Linked DNA regions of Homo sapiens: region 2 is linked to region 1. The links are contacts of gene promoters, found by promoter capture Hi-C in human tissues and cell types (Jung and others, 2019). All regions are on one chromosome and are shown on one strand. The core of a region is centred on a gene start or on the middle of the fragment in contact, and the rest is flanking DNA. Distances in the headings are between cores, read along the strand shown. Region 1 holds the start of COMMD2 (COMM domain containing 2). Region 2 has its middle 46 kb from the start of COMMD2.

Region 1 (4,950 bases), core at 2,451-4,950:
AGATTTTGGTAAAATAGTCAGAGGCGCCTAAAATCTAAGGCTCATTCTAAAAAATGCCTTTGAGTTCCCAATTAGATATTGCTGGGTTGGGGCACAAAGGTTAATACAAACACACACACATGCACGTGCAGACACTCACACACGCATTCACACACATAGATGATTCTACAGGGATGTTGTAAGGCAGCATGTGTATAGGTATTAGTTCACTATAGAGAAAACAAGAGATGATAGTGACTGGCAGGAGGCACAGCAGAAATTCTGGGGTGTTGTAACATTCTATTTCTTGTTCTGGAGTAATAGGTGTGTTTAATTTGAGAAGATTCAACAATGAGTATTTAAAAAATCTGTACCCTTTTCTGTTTGCATTTATAATACATTTTTTTAATGAATTAAAATAATTTTTTAAAATGTCAGGAGCTAATTCATGCATTTGGTGCCAGCTTTAGAGTCATGAGAAGGTGGCTGGTGTGAGTGAGGCTTGTCACCACGTTATTGTCCTCTTGACAGTATAGTGAATTGAGCTGTAATTCCTTGCAGGGGGTGATAATATTTTATGTGTCATTGAAACACAGCTAAGGAAATATCCTGTGCAAGGATTCTGGGCTAGAATACCTAAGAAGGAGAAAATAAATGGGAAAATATAAGAGAAAAGAAAGACGTATGAGCTGGAGGGGGATAGAAAGATGCAGAGAGAATGTGAGGGGATGATTGATATGAAGCCTTGTTCTCTACCAGCATCAATTGAAAAAAATACTGAGTATTTATTATTTGTTCACATTCACCCTGGAAGTAAGATAGCATGAAGTGACATTAAGACTGTATATATTTATAATGTAAATCTAATTGTAGAGCATTAGTATTAACATGCACAGGATATGCTGGGACATTTATTCTCAGCCTGATTCTTTTAAATTAGAGTTAATGTACATTCCCTATGCTTCCTTCTCATTTTGTTCATTCTCCAAGTATTGCTACTCATCACACTGTATGGAAATTACTTCATTATCTTTCTCCCTCACTTTTCTGACACCTCCTAGAGGGCAAGGACATTGTTTTATTCATCTACAAATTGCCAAAGCATAGCATATCTTTGAACCTTTAAGGAATTGCTTAATAAAGTTTGTTAAATTAAATGAATGGCTTTTAAGATGATTATTTGTGAATTTATAGGAGCATAAAATCTGCTCCTATAAAATGTAAATGCTGCTGTTTGCTTAATTCTAATTTATTGTTTCATTTGATCATCAAAATCAATTTTTAATGTGAATTTATTAGTTCATCTGAGCATCATAACAGCCCTGCATGGCACAGAAGGGCAGTATTAAAATGCCAGTTTTACAGACGAAGAGGCTATGGTTATAACATAAAAACAACTTATTAGAAGTCATACAGGTAGTGTCAGAGCCAGATCTGGAATCTAGAGTTTTGAATTTTCACTCAGGTAATTTTTTCTAAACAATTATATCACTTATGGCAACAGAAGTCACTCTATAAATTATCCTGGGGTGTTTTAACTCCCAGGCTGGTTTTTCTTGGATATAACTTGGTTTCTTTCTTTTTTTTTTTTTTGACAGTGTCTGACTCTGTCACCCAGGCTGGAGTGCAGTGACTCAAATCTTGCTCACTGCAACCTCTGCCTCGCAGGTTCAAGCAATTTTCATGCCTTGGGCTACCAAGTAGCTGGGACCACAGGTACATGCCACCAAGCTTTGCTAATTTTTGTATTTTTAGTAGAGATGGGGTTTTACCATGTTGGTCAGGCTAGACTTGAATTTCTGGCCTCAAGTGATCCTCCCGCCTTGGCCTTCCAAAGTGCTGGGTTTACAGGCATCAGCCACCATACCTGGCCTAACTTGGTTCCTTGACCACCTTTTTTAGACAGCCTATTGTGCTACTCCCTAGTCTCACCTTCACCTCGCCTGTCCTCACTTCATTCCCTGAGATTACAGACAAGAAAGGCCATTTCATATTGGCATAATATTGTGTCTATTTGCAAATTCATTTCAGCATTCCTACTCCCTATATATGTACAGTTCTTGAATACCTCTTTTGAATCAGTTGAAACTGGTTTTTACTGTAATCTCTCATTAATTACAGAATGCTGTAATTCTCTCATTAATTAACTAGTTCAATACATTTTTTGACATGTGTTCATTGTACACTTGTAGAAGAATCATGATTTTACCTTTTCTGAAAATTATTCTTTAATAATGGATGTTTTCTCAATAATGTGTGAATAAAGGCAACTTCAGGAAATGATGCAATTTTTGCTAATCTGCAATTCACAGTCTAAGTAAAAGTTGTGTTCTCTCTGCAAATGCTACTTCAAGAACTAACTAATAAGTTCAAGGACCTGTCTTTCTGTGTCCCAGTGGAAGAAACAATTTCAGTCAGATGTGAAGGACAAAGTAGACACAGAGAAGTGAATTGAAAAACTCTTCCAATTTTTAGTCTGCCTGGGAGACTCAGAATATAGAGTTGTCTCAAGCCTTAGATAGAAAAGACAGATATGAAGAGTCTTCTTCCCTTCCCCTCTCTTCCTCCACACCCTCCATTTTCAAGGGGTTAAGATTTGAAGAATCATATTCCTATCAATTAGCAACTTTATCATCTCTGATATTTGAACCACAGCAGGTGAGAAGAGAGTTGGAAAAGGAACTAAATTATCACAGGCGCTAAATACTTTTTAAAAGGCATTGCTCTGGGCCAGGTGTGGTGGTTCATGCTTGTAATCCCAGCACTTTGGGAGGCCAAGTTGGCTGGATGACTTGAGGTCAGGAGTTCAAGACCAGCCTGGCCAACATGGTGAAAACCCGTCTCTACTAAAAATACAAACATTAGCCAGGCATGGTGGTGGGCGCTTGTAATACCAGCTACTCGGGAGGCTGAGGCAGGAGAATCGCTTGAACCCGGGAGGCAGAGGTTGCAGTGAGCCGGGCGACAGAGCGAGACTCCATGTAAAAAACAAAACAAAACAAAACAAACAAACAAAAACATTGCTCTGAATCCTGTAAGCATCGGTCATTGTCATCATTATCTTTATCCTAATTTATAATCACTCATAAAACTTGTCAGAAGCTTTCAGCTTTCAGGCTGTTATGTAGAAGGATGGGCTTTGCAGCAGGTAAGTGAGGGATCCAACCCTCTCCATCTAACTCTGTCACAGGCTTTGTCACATAATCTCTGGAGCTTTGTGTCTTATCTGTAAAAACAAAGCCATGTTTGTTGAGGATATTAACTGAGATACATTTAAGATAACATAGAAGCTCTGGAAACTATTAGCTTTATAAAAGTGTCAGTTGCTGGACTTGTCTATCAGTTTCCTTATCTCTAATGGAAATTATAATGGAACCTACCTCATAGGGTTCTTCTGAACTCCAAATGTATTTAATAAATGTAAGAACACTTCCTGACACGGTTAGTGCTTAACAAATGTGAACTATTGATATTATTAATGTATGCTCCACGAGGGGGCGTGTCGGATTTGAAACACCTTTTCATCTCCCATAGAGCCTAGCACCTTGCACCCAGCAGGCGCTCACTGCATCTTTGCGGGATGATTTCAATGTTCTGACCTCAGCCTGCGCTGCAGGGAACGTCCGAGTGTAACGCGTTAGTTCGTAGGCCGGAACCCAAAGCTCCGGACGCTGCGACGCCGGAGCCTCTAGGCGCCGGGACACGGGCGCCGGAAGTGGCGAAGGCGGGGTCGGCGCTGCCGGGTGAAATCGTAGGACAGTGAAGATGCTGCTGGAATTGTCCGAGGAGCATAAGGAACACCTGGCCTTCCTGCCTCAAGTGGACAGCGCGGGTCAGCGGGCGTGGGGGCGGTGTTCTGTGGGCTGGGGAGGAGGTCAAAGGCAGCGCCTGGCACTCAACAGCCTTCTGACTTTCATTGCAGTGGTCGCCGAGTTTGGGCGGATTGCTGTGGAATTCCTGAGACGCGGCGCAAACCCAAAAATCTACGAAGGCGCCGCCAGTAAGAAGGGAAAGGGGAAGGCTCCGCAGGCTTCTAGGGCGGTTGCGAGCCATTCCCTGTCTCCCGGGAGAGAAACGGATTATTGCGAGTCCTAGGGTCTTGTTCCGATTGTAGTAGAATAAAACCAGCAGAGCTCTTCAGTCAGGGTGCAAATCCTGCCCGTCCCTTAAGTAGCTGTGAGATTGTTAAAGCTTCTATTAAATCAGTTTTCTCATGGTAAAATGTACATAATACCACCTTACTTTCAGAAATACTGAAAAGTGTTTTGTATAAATATACCAAAGTCTGTGGAATAGCTGGGTCAACTGTAAATTGCAAGTATTTGGTTATCATTATTAGTTGTTCAGATATCCGCTTTTGCTAAAAAAAAAAAAAAAAGTGTTGTTTTACCCCTGGGTAAGAGGCAGTCTCTGGGATTAAGTCAATCCCTGTCGAGTTCCTCTTCTGCCAGACTTGAAGGAGCTACGTATTCAAGAGAAGGGCTACGCACCTGATACTAGTCTCCACAGTTCTGCATTTTGTTAAGGTTACTTGGTGGGAAATACCAAAGGCATTTGGCTGGGAGTGGAATGACAAGGAGCAGGAGCCTCTGGCCAACTTACTGTTTTTCATGCAGTGTTTGAAAACATGTAATAATGAATAGTGTTTATTTTTAAATACAAATATGAACAAGATAAATACTACAGTAGTAATTTATTTGCTCGTTTTTACTTTTCTTTCTCAGGAAAACTCAATGTGAGTAGTGACACTGTCCAGCATGGTGTGGAAGGATTAACGTATCTCCTCACTGAGAGCTCAAAGCTCATGGTAAGGGATTTTCTGGACTGTTTTGTGTTGGCTGGATTCTTAAGAACGGTCTGGTGTACTCTACATCATAGTCCTGGCAGGTACCTGTGTGTTTTAATAATGTTGTTAATGGTTTATAATTGATTTTTTGAAGACATACCTAAAAAATAAAAATCATATCATCT
Region 2 (4,452 bases), core at 675-3,174, 46 kb after region 1:
GAGGGGAGATGGGGAGTTGTTTAATGGGCATAGAGTTTCAGTTTTGCAAGATGAAAAGAGATCTGAAGATTGGTTGTACAACGTGAATGTACTTAGTACTACTGAACTGTACACTTCAAAATGGTTAAGATAATAAATGTTATATTAGGTATATTTTACCACAATTAAAAAACCAGCAAGCAAACAAAACCAACCAACCAACAAAACAAACAAAAACCAACAAGAAAAAAAATGTTGTCAGTCATATTTAGACCATAGTGAGTCTGCGTTATTGAGAGAAATAGAGAGTTTGGGGAAAAATGCCTGTTGAGTGAGGAAGACATGAACTCAGTCACTTACATGTCCAGGTACGGTGTTCTATAGTGCACCAAGTAGAAATGTCCAGTCATGAGCTGGGGTACAGGCCTGAGGCTAGGAAGACAAAGCAGTAGCCCTTTACTGCAGGATTGATTAGACGAGAGAGGGCACTGGTTAGGACAAAGGAATCAGGCAGAGGACCATTACCATAATTCTAGTTTAGGAGAACAGTATTGGTATGGCCATACCATACTGTTGGCCATACCAATTGGTATGACCATACCATACTGTTGGCCATACCAATTGGTATGACCAAATTTTCCCCAGAAAGGGGAAGCTGGAGCCTGAGCAGGCGGTAGAGACTATTGCAAGTTCAGTAAGAGACACATATGTTTGGGGACATGCAAACATATTCAATTGGCAGTCAGTTTGCCTCCTGAAAGGGTGACTGGAGCTGAGAACCTACATTGCCTCTAGTGTAGCATTTCCTTAGGTAGGCTCTGAGTCCTCTGAGAAATGATTCCCTCTGATATTCACAGTGCACATGAATATATCAGAGGCCCTCAGAGTGTTCTGGGAAAGGGAATTGCTTAATTTTGTTAAACCTAGGTTTTCCTAAACTCATGTGACTGCCCTGCCTTTTTTTTCATAAAACATCTATTAATTTAATGAGGACTACACTTTGGGGAATTGTTCTCCTGTTCGTGAAGATATTTCTTAGTTGACAAAGGGAAGCAGAGGAGAAACTGGTTAGATAGTTGATAAATCTGTGAATATTCAATGTGTCCCTATTAAGTCACCAAAACAGACTGAGGAAGCTTCCAAAAACCCAGGCCTGGCCTGGAAACTGAGGACACTAACCCCTCTGCATGGGGAGCGGTGGTGAAGTTTGCTGGGGGCTTTGATCAAAGACAGCTTGCTGTCTTGGCTTTCTCCCTACACTGCATGTGCTAGTGAAGCCTGGCCAATCCCTCCCCTAGTTCTTTTTTATCCTCTACATTGGCTCCTTGTCCTTGCTTTTCCATTTGCATAACTAATGCACACAACACAGAGTTCCCGCAATTTTAAAGACAGCTGGCCAGCACATCTTGGATGCTGATGTCAGGAAACATCTGGAAGAGGGCTAAAGTTACTGAAGGCCCATCTGAGAACAATGGAAACACATTAATATGGAAAATTCAGTATTGGGGTTGGGGGGTGGCTTGTGTAAATAAAAATGGCTGTCAGACCAACTTATAAAAGTCTTGCGCAAAACCTTATTGTAGTTTTGGCACTAATACCACGGAGCAATTGAGTGGTAGTCCAGCTAAAACTGAAATATTGCTGCTTTGTTTTGTATATGTATCACTGAGACCTTCCTTTTCTTAAAAGGTTTCCTAGAAGTCCTGCCAGCTCAGCAAGATATTCTATTCTAAAAAGTTCATAAAATAGTGTTTTACTTTATAATAATATTAAGATGATCTCCCTTCTTTCTCCTTGTTCCCTCTTGCTCAAAATATAAGGATATAAAATAGAGTTCTGATACACCTTTTTCTGCTATCTCTAAGAAGTCAGTGTTGGCCAGGCATGGTGGCCAACCTCCTGTAATCTCAGCACTTTGGGAGGCTGAGGCGGGTGGATCACCTGAGGTCAGGAGTTCGGGACCAGCCTGATCAACATGGAGAAACCCTGTCTCTACTAAAAATACAAAATTAGCCGGGCGTGGTGGTGCATGCCTATAATCCCAGCTACTCGGGAGGCTGAGGCAGGAGAATCTCTTGAACCCAGGAGACGGAGGTTGTGGTGAGCCGAGATCACGCCATTGCACTCCAGCCTGGGCAACAGGAGTGAAATTCTGTCTCAAAAAATAAAAGAAGTCAGTGTTAGTAGAAATACTAAGGTTTACAAATATTTAAATGTGAACATTATAGAATGTGCACGAAAAATTTACATGTGAACATTCTTTTTCTTTTTTTCTTTTTTATTTTTTCTTTTGAGACAGAGTCTCTCTCTGTCACCCAGGCTTGACTGCAGTGGTATATTGTGTGATCTCAGCTCACTGCAGCCTCCACCTCCCAGGCACAAGCAATCCTCCTGCCTCAGCCCCTTATCCTGAGTAGCTGGGACTACAGGCACATGCCACCACACCTGGCTAATTTTTGTATTTTTTGTAGAGACGGAGTTTCAAATATTGCCCAGGCTGGTCTCAAACTCCTGGACTCAAGCAATCCACCCGCCTTGGCCTCCCACAGTGCTGGGATTACAGAAATGAGCCACCGCACTGCAACATTATTTTTCAGGGCTGTGTGGCATAGTAGTTAAATAAACAGATTTTGGAGTTTGAATTCTAGCTCCTCCTCTTACCCAATTATATGAAACTTTGAGAAAATTACTTAATTAGCATAACTTCATTTTGAAAATTATAACTATTTTTGCCAGTTGGAATTGTCATGAGGAGTGCACAAGCTAATATATGTTTTCAGTGCTTAATGATTAGTTGTCCAGGTTAGCTATTCTTACTGTGGTTTTGTTGATATATAAGGATTAAGAAGAAATCCCTGCTATAATCTATTTTGCAATCCAACTCCAAAACACTGAGCATTTGCTTTCAATTTCCTGCCCAACAGATATATGTTTTGGAATCAGGGTTTCTCCCCCTAAGTGTTACTTTAAAGTTCTACCTACTGTTTCACTTTATTTTGTAGAAACTGAAAATGGCATCTTGTCTCTTGTACAACTACAAGTTCATGATTACTATCTCATATTGTTTTCTGACATTTGAATTCTTGGTCTTGATACCTGCTTTTTCCCTCTGAAAGCTTGTTGGATTTTCTCCTATTTCTAAGGGTCTGACATTTCACAATGGTCTATTTTCATCCATTGTCTAGGTATTTTGGGGGCGCTATCAATCTGGCAGCTCACATCCTTTGGTTTTTGAAATCTTGAATTATTGATTTATTATGAGCTCCTCCCCATCAATTTTTCTGTTCTCTTTCTTTCTGGAACTCCTGTTTATTGAAATATTGTACCTTGTAGACTGATCCTCTGATTGTTTTTTCTTTCCTATTGTCCTTTTCTTTGTCTTTTAGCTTTATTTTCCTAGTTTCTCAACTTTATCATATAAACTGTCTAAGTTTTAAAATTCCATTATTATATTTCAAATTTCTAAGAGTTATTTTTTGTTCTTTTTATTTCATCCTGTTCTTATAACATCTTTTTACTTCTCTGAAGATATTATTAGCTTTTTTAAAAGCTTTTATTTCCCTGCATATTCTCAAGACTTTGTTTCCTCTCTAATTTTTGTTTTGTTTTGTTTTTCGTTGTTTGTTGTTGTTGTTTTTTTTTTTTTAACTTTTGTGTGTTCTGTCTCTCTCTTCTTTGGTAGGGGCTTTTTTCAGATGTCTGATAATTCTGGCCCTTCACTTGTATTTTAGAGCTAATGGGCACCTCTGTGCCATGGATGAAGCTTGTTACCTTTTGTCTTTAGAATGATCAGTCTGGGCCATTTCTATGGGAGGGGGATGTCCTTGTCTTTAGGTCTTTTTTCTTGGTCTGAGCAAGTTTTCTAGAAGGTAAATGTCTCCTCTCCTTCCTAGAATGGTTCCTTATGCTGGCTGCCTCTGTTCTGGAGGTTGAATTTGGACTGAGAATAGTGCTTCATTATATAAGCCTTTTTTCAAATCTGTCTGCTTTCAGCATAATATTCCCAGTCTTTATCGTGCCTAGTGTCCTAGCTCTGGCTTAGAGACCCTCTGTTATATCTTCTGCAGCAGTCACTAAACTGCATTTGGGAGGGAGGCTTTTGGGGTAGCCTACCCTGGGAAATGGCTTGCTTCTTGGTTTCCCCTGTGCTGATTTAGAATTTAGCCTTCTTAGTTTGTTACGTGATATGCAAAGTATCCTATTTTTTAGCTCTTAAAATTTTGTTGCTGTCATTATTTTCTCCCCCTTTTAATTTGTTAAAATCCTTTTATTTTTAATTTAATAGAGGTTTGGGGGTAAACACATTTGTTCAATCAGCCATCTTTAATCAGCATTTTTAAAAAGATATTCTTGGCCAGGCATGGTGGCTCATGCCTGTGATCTCAGCATTTTGGGAGGCTGAGGTGGGAGGATTGCTTGAGCTCAGAAGTTCAAGGCTGCAATGAGCCATGATCATGCCACTGCACTCCAGCC

The links. Contacts are between HindIII fragments. The study calls those that stand out against the background at their distance.
Region 2: a contact is called between a fragment that was not itself captured here and the fragment with the promoter of COMMD2 in region 1, in 1 of the 25 tissues and cell types used here (adrenal gland).

What each region holds. Positions count from the first base shown.
Region 1 is chr3:149,751,239-149,756,188 of GRCh38, reverse strand. COMMD2 (COMM domain containing 2) reads left to right here and starts at 3,700. Exons shown (of 5, transcript NM_016094.4): 1 at 3,700-3,811; 2 at 3,902-3,979; 3 at 4,704-4,786. The coding sequence starts at 3,745. RefSeq lists a silencer at 3,475-3,544. The HindIII fragment of the contact is 2,909 bases long and covers 2,397-4,950 here.
Region 2 is chr3:149,704,022-149,708,473 of GRCh38, reverse strand. It overlaps a transcript of WWTR1 not described here. Among named protein-coding and RNA genes, the nearest start is that of COMMD2, 46 kb to the left of the region's middle. The HindIII fragment of the contact is 5,305 bases long and covers 1-4,452 here.